Linked DNA regions of Homo sapiens: region 2 is linked to region 1. Evidence: promoter capture Hi-C in human tissues and cell types (Jung and others, 2019). All regions are on one chromosome and are shown on one strand. Each heading gives the region's core, a stretch centred on a gene start or on the middle of the fragment in contact. The rest is flanking DNA. Distances are from core to core; before and after follow the strand shown.

What was found. Contacts are between HindIII fragments. The study calls those that stand out against the background at their distance.
Region 2: a contact is called between a fragment that was not itself captured here and the fragment with the promoter of FNDC3B in region 1, in 1 of the 25 tissues and cell types used here (dorsolateral prefrontal cortex).

What each region holds. Positions count from the first base shown.
Region 1 is chr3:172,038,069-172,041,386 of GRCh38, reverse strand. It overlaps FNDC3B (fibronectin type III domain containing 3B), which reads right to left and starts at 1,809. Exons shown (of 26, transcript NM_022763.4): 1 at 1,616-1,809. RefSeq lists silencers at 457-826, 887-1,136, 1,317-1,416, 1,557-1,736 and enhancers at 655-1,321, 1,322-1,989. The HindIII fragment of the contact is 8,271 bases long and covers 1-3,318 here.
Region 2 is chr3:172,633,745-172,637,062 of GRCh38, reverse strand. It overlaps NCEH1 (neutral cholesterol ester hydrolase 1), which reads left to right. Exons shown (of 5, transcript NM_020792.6): 4 at 976-1,147; 5 at 2,971-3,318. Among named protein-coding and RNA genes, the nearest start is that of LINC02068, 40 kb to the right of the region's middle. The HindIII fragment of the contact is 4,630 bases long and covers 1-3,318 here.

The DNA of each region.
Region 1 (3,318 bases), core at 560-3,059:
AAAGAAAGAAAGAAAGAAAGAAAGAAAACGATTTTTAAAAAGCATATTCCCTCTCCCTTAGCTTTCCCTAGGAAGGCCTGGAAACTGAAGGAAATTCAAATCAAATTAGTTGCACATTAAAAAATAAACAGACAAGCAATCAGGGGGTGCCCACCCAACAAAAGACCTCACCCGTTCCAAAATATGATTAAGCCTGGGAGGGAAGAGGGGGAGGGGGGACTAGAAACCAGCAGGGATGGAGAGAGAAACCTGTGGATTTTTGGCCCCAGCGTTGGCCCATTGCGGCCAAATTCTAAATTTTGTTTAAATAAAATGCTGGGTTGAGGAGAAAAGAAAACAAAAAGTTATAACTTTTAAGGAAGTCTGCAAACGGCACTGTCTGGATAAAATGCCATTGCTTCCCTTCGTCTGGGATGGCAGGGTGGGAGCTGAGATTCCAAAAGCTCCAACTCCGACCGCGCACTCCTGGAAGCCTCCCCGCCAAAGGCGCCGCCGGGCGGCGCAGCCCAGTCTCCCGAGACGGCGGGCCCGGGTCCTCCGGTTCCCACGGGACGCCGGGACCCGGACCTCTGGGAAAGTTCGCGGGCACAGCCCGAGGCCCCACTTTCTGCCGAGAGTGACAGGCCCTTCCCACGCCTGCCGGCCCCAGCCCAGCCGCGGGCACCAGACGGTCCGCGCGGCCCCTCCTGGCCGCCTCGGGGCGCAGATTCCGCCCGCCCGCCCTATCCCCGGCCGAGGCGCCCCTCGGGGTGACCGACTGACCGGAGCTCCGCTGGCCCACACACCGGGTCGCCCGCTCCTTCCCGCCGCGCCCCGCTCCCCCGCCCGAGCTTCCAGCCGCCGGCTCGCCAAGTCCGGCCGCGGCCGCCGGTTACCGCCCCCAGCCCGGGGGGAGCCCGGGGGGCAGGACGGGGAGGAGGACGTGGCGTGCTCGGAGGTGGCCAGCAGCGGGGCGGGGAGTGTCCCGGAGAGGCCCAGCCGGGGACGGGGGGGCCAGGCCGGCGCGGGCTCGGGACCCTCCCCGCGAGCATCCCCGGGTTCGAGGCCCCCGACCGCCCCCGCCGGCGCGGAGAGGCGGCCCCAACTTCCAGCCCCACTTCGCACTCCCGCCCTCTTCCCTCCACCATATGGAAATCTACAGCCTCAGAAAGTGACACGTCGAAGATTCCTCGGCCTCGCCGCCCGCCCTCCCCCTCCTGGGCAGCGTTCCTGCCGCGGAGATTCCGGGAGGGGGAGCGGATTCCTCGGACAAAATCTGCTGGGAAGGCTGGGGGTGGGGGGAGGCCGCGAGCCACTGCCCAATTTTTTTTAAGAGGAATCTACCCGTTTCTTTCACTCCTCCAAACCCTGAGGCAGGGGGCACAGGCGGGGGACCCCAGCCCAGCAAGGCGGGGGCCGCCCCCTCCCGGGTCCCGTGTTCCCGGGGTGCCCAGGCGAGCACGGGGCGCCCCAGCACTCCGGCGCCAAGTTTTTGCCGGGAAGCCCAGGGCGCTCCCGGGACAGGGACGCACTTTGGCGGACTCGGCGTCAGGCCGGGGCTTTCCAGTGCACCGGGACCCGGCGATCGCGCTCGGGGTCCCGGTCTCCTCTAGTCCCCGGCTCTTGCACGCCTTACCTTCCCTAGGGCTGAAACGCGGGGCTCTGGGCGCGCCACACACCGGGTCGCCCACGCCTTCCCAGCCGGCAGCCTGGAGGATCCCTGCCGCCCCCTTCGCTGCTCCCGCCGCCGCCGCTCTCCTCCTCCAGCCGCCGCCGCCGCCGCTCAAATAACTACCAGGAGGGTTTGATGGGGGATTCCGCCATGTCAATGATGTCGGGACCACATGGGGATTTGGGGCCCGCCCATTACCGTAAACCGCCGAATATACCGGCCGCCACAATCGCAGACTCGCAGAAGCTGTTGTCCCCCGGCCCTGCCTAGCTAAGCAGAAACTCCTTTTGGTTCAGCCAGACTAAAGAAACCTGAGGCTTAGGGAACTAACAACTCCTGAATGGCGAGGGCTGCGCGTTCTGCAGATCGCCAAAGTAATATAAAGGCAATGTTTACTCAGTGATAATTAAGCCTAAAACTGACTTTTTTTCATTTACACATATATTTCGCTTTTTGTTGTTGTTAACCCCCACAGCAACCTTGTGAGCTATATTACTCCCACATTTCCCACAGCATTTTATTCATACAACTAACATAGTATGAGCAATTTTTATTATACTTAAGTTAAAATCTCTCTTTCCTCTTTCTTTTTGTTTTTTGTTTTTTGTTGTTGTTGTTGTTTGTTTTGGGGACTGCAGGCACGGGGCAGGCATGAGCCACCGCACCCTTTTTTTTTTTTTTTTTTTTTCCTTTTTTGGAAGAGAGGGGGTCTCAATAGGTTGCCCAGGCTGGTCTGGAACTCTGTCGCTCAAGTGATTCTCCCGCCTTGGCCTCCCAAAGTGTTGAGATTACAGGCGTGAGCCAACTCACCCAGCCTTATTTCACAATGCGTTTCTCAGGGACAAAGACTGTTTCTTACTTTTATCTTTATATCCGTAAAATATAGCACAGTGCAAGGACCACAATAGGACTCATTAAATAACTGTTGAGTTCATATTAAGTCAAATGTAATGTATTTCTGTTGTACAGGCTCTAAGAGGTTAACAGACTGCATCCCATGCCACCCCTCAGATTATTCAGGAGACAAGAGAGCAAAAGTTAGCCTAGAGAAGCCCCTTCCATCCATAGCTGTCCAGGTATTCTGAATAGCTACATTCAGCCTCAACTATTAAGCTACAAAGGAGCATTCAGGGAGTCACTAGAGACAATGTATTACTTTTGTTAACCTAAAAAATAATAATAGCAGTACATAATACTCTGTTAAAGTCTAAAGAACACTAAGAAATAGCTCCTTCCTTCCCTTGTTCATTTGCCATTCTTTTGGGGAGATTTTAGCCTTTTTTTTTTTTTTTTGGAGGCAATGGTGAGTCCAGAGAAATGGGGACCTCTCTCCTAAATGGCTTATTTACTGTGGAGCTCCTCAAAGGGGAACTTGAAGCCATCTTTCTATAACATAACTCCAATTCTAGGTCATAGTCCTGCATGAGAAGCCGGGGCGGGGGGTAGGCAGTAGTTCCTTAGTGCCAATAGGGTACAATCCAATAGATCCCATTTGAGTCCAAATGCCTTCTCTGGCTCCAGACTCTTTGGCTTCCTCAGGTGCCATGCCTTCAGCCCAGCTGATCACTCATGGCTCCAGAAGGTACCTGTGTCCCTTTGTACGTGCCTTCCCTCTGAAACATACTTCTTCTTCCCTATTTAAGATCATTTACTCATCCTTGATCTCC
Region 2 (3,318 bases), core at 487-2,986, 600 kb before region 1:
TGAGTGACGTACCCTGGCACATAGAAATATCAAGGAATGGTAGCCAGTTCAAGCCCAAAAGCAAGTGGAGATATGACCAAGGAAGGCTGCCCAGAGGAGGCCAAACCCTCCAGTTAAGGCTTAAAGGATGAGTGAGAATTAATAAGCAAAAGAGGGGAGTAGAGAGTGAGAGGGAACTCTAAACCAAGATTGCCAATGTAGATGTGTAAGATAACACTATGGGTGAGGCATTTGACAAAACCAGAGCTTTCTGGGAATCTTAAGGGGATATGAATTCTACTAGGTGTACAGAGTAGGATTCCAAAGGACTCTGATCTTGCGAAGTGGGGCCAGTTGGAGAAGCCCCAGAAGTATCCCCGAGGGCCTGCTCTAGGCCGTCTGGAAAACTTAGCTTCCCTTTTGTGAGTTAACAACCGGCCTTTTAGTTACAGTCTTCCAGGTATTGAATGCATTTCTTGGGTTTAATGTCAGGCTAATATGGACCTCTCCAGTGAAGTACAGTTTTATTATATGAAGTAAATGATGGACTCATTAAATGTGAGATCAATGAAGTGGTTAATCCTGCCAAGTCACCTCGTAACCCAGAGGCATTATGAATGGAATGCTGACTTCCAGAAATAAAATTCTAAAATCTATTACGGTGCTATCCATGTCTTTGTAATGAACATTCGCCTTTTACTTGTTAGTTTTATTTTGGTTGTTCTTGGTGGTAAGTAGGTTTGGTTTGGTGGCTGATAGTTTAAAGAAAAATAGTACTATTACTAATACAAAATCATCACATTTTAAACTAAGTATTTGATTTGCAAGAAAATGGTTTATTTTTATATTTTATTATTTTTTCTTTTTCATACAATAATTCCATTGAATTAATTTCTTATCTATTTCCAGATTTAAAAGAACCAGTTTCCATCTAAACTTTAAATGTCCCCCAAAATTGGAGAAGGCCTTAAATGAATACAACTTTTGTTTTTACAGATACAGGCTAGTTCCAAAGGTTTATTTTCCTGAGCAAATTCATGATGTTGTACGGGCCACAAAGTATTTCCTGAAGCCAGAAGTCTTACAGAAGTATATGGTTGATCCAGGCAGAATTTGCATTTCTGGTGACAGTGCTGGTGGAAATCTGGCTGCTGCCCTTGGACAACAGGTAACACCACTGTCCTAAGGTGCTGGTGGGTTAAGCGGTGCATGACAAGGTCTAGCAGACCAACACACCCTCCATTATGTGTGGCAAATGCATAGCTGGGTGGGCCGGTCACTAGATGGCCAAATTGTTCATGTGATTACACTTGTAGAGCTCTCAGAGATCTCGTTGAAGTAGGAAGATGAGTCATTGGAGGAAGTATCACCTATGAGTCTTTGTAAAGTCCCTGATTACAGTCAGTGTTAGAGAAGGGCTGACATCCCTTGCTTCTCAGGGCTATGTATGGAACTCCAGTATCCCCTGCTCCTTTTTCATGTTTGACTTGCAAATCGGAGTATTTTTGCTTAAATTCCAGTTCCTAAGATTGTTCCTTACAACTTTGAGCCAAATTAAAACCTTAAAATTTGTTTCCCCAACTTTTTTTTAATGTAAAAGAAAGAAATTAAACGATTCAGCCATTTAAATATTATCTTACAAGTTACTATGAGCTTTACCTGGTTTAATTCTTTGAAAACTATATCTAGCTTCTAATAGCACCCCAATTTTTTTGGCAAGTGGGAAAAAGCACATTTTCTTCCTGTTATGGATGAAGTAACTTAAGACATCTTTGTCTTCTCACCTCCAAATTTCATTTGGTGTCCTCAAATACCATCTGTCATTCTAATTATGATGTACCTTGGCTTCTAACTCTTTTGCTATAATTCAAGAACTTGATTTTCCATTTGGCATTGGCAAGTTTTCCATCCAAATATGGTCAGAAGAGAGTCTTGGCTCAGTGGAGAGAACATTCTTGGCTTTGAAGCCAGACAGCACTGGGATCTAACCCAGGACCCACCGTTGAGTGCTGCGGGGCCCTGGATAAGTCCCTTAACCTCTCTGAGCCTCAGAAAAACGAGGACAGTGTCATCTGATTGCAGGGCTGTTGCAAGGACTTAGTGAGGTGATGTGTATACAATTTTTGGCACATATTCAAAGTGCTATTTACTGACCATTCTTGCTTTTGGAGAGCAGTCATATCTCACCTGGGAATGGGTTTCTAAAGTCCAAGTATGAAGCAGAAGTGTATGGCTAAAGTTACCTTGAAGATCATTTAGTTGTCTATGAAGCTTCATGACTAGTTAGCTTTCTTTTAGATGTTACACGACAAATATATAATTTTGCACACTAGAATTACAAAATGGGGCAATGTTAACACTGTGGGGAGGTGTTGGGGGACTGAGATCTGTTGAGGTAGGGGATTCATTCACATTCCCATGACAACTTCACTCTGGCATATGCTCATTATGTAGAATGGAGGGTGCATTGCCAGAACTATTTAAATTCTGTCTCACCAAGCGTGAAGATGCTCACCAGAAAGCATACCCTGAGGTCCTACTTAAACACTCAGGAGTCTCATAATCTGCTTATTAAGTTTTTTCTGCCCCTCTCTTCTGGAAGAATAAGACTAATTTTTTTCCCCCTAGGAAGCCATGACCTTTTTGGGGGTTTTGTAGGGAATAAAAAATTAAATAAGGTTCACACATTATCCATTCATAATACCTAGGTGTCTTAACTGCCTAAAGATAGATACAAGTACAGGGTTCACTCAAAACTGAGTTGTAAACATCATACCTTTCTTAGTTAAATATCTAGCAGCTTGATAGGGTGGTGATGGTAATGATGGAGAATTATTTTTTAAACTTTATTATTTATACAGTGCCTGGTAGAAATGTAACACTTATACCATTGACAGATTCAGAGTAACACATGAAGCTACTCTACAGGGTATGGTTCCTATAAAAGAAGGCATGCAAAATGAAATAATGTATTTGCTTCCTCTTCTCTAGTTTACTCAAGATGCCAGCCTAAAAAATAAGCTCAAACTACAAGCTTTAATTTATCCAGTTCTTCAAGCTTTAGATTTTAACACACCATCTTATCAGCAAAATGTGAACACCCCAATCCTGCCCCGCTATGTCATGGTGAAGTATTGGGTGGACTACTTCAAAGGCAACTATGACTTTGTGCAGGCAATGATCGTTAACAATCACACTTCACTTGATGTGGAAGAGGCTGCTGCTGTCAGGGCCCGTCTAAACTGGACATCCCTCTTGCCTGCATCCTTCACAAAGAACTACAAGCCTGTTGTACAGACCACAGGCAATGCCAGGATTGTCCAGGAGCTTCCTCAGTTG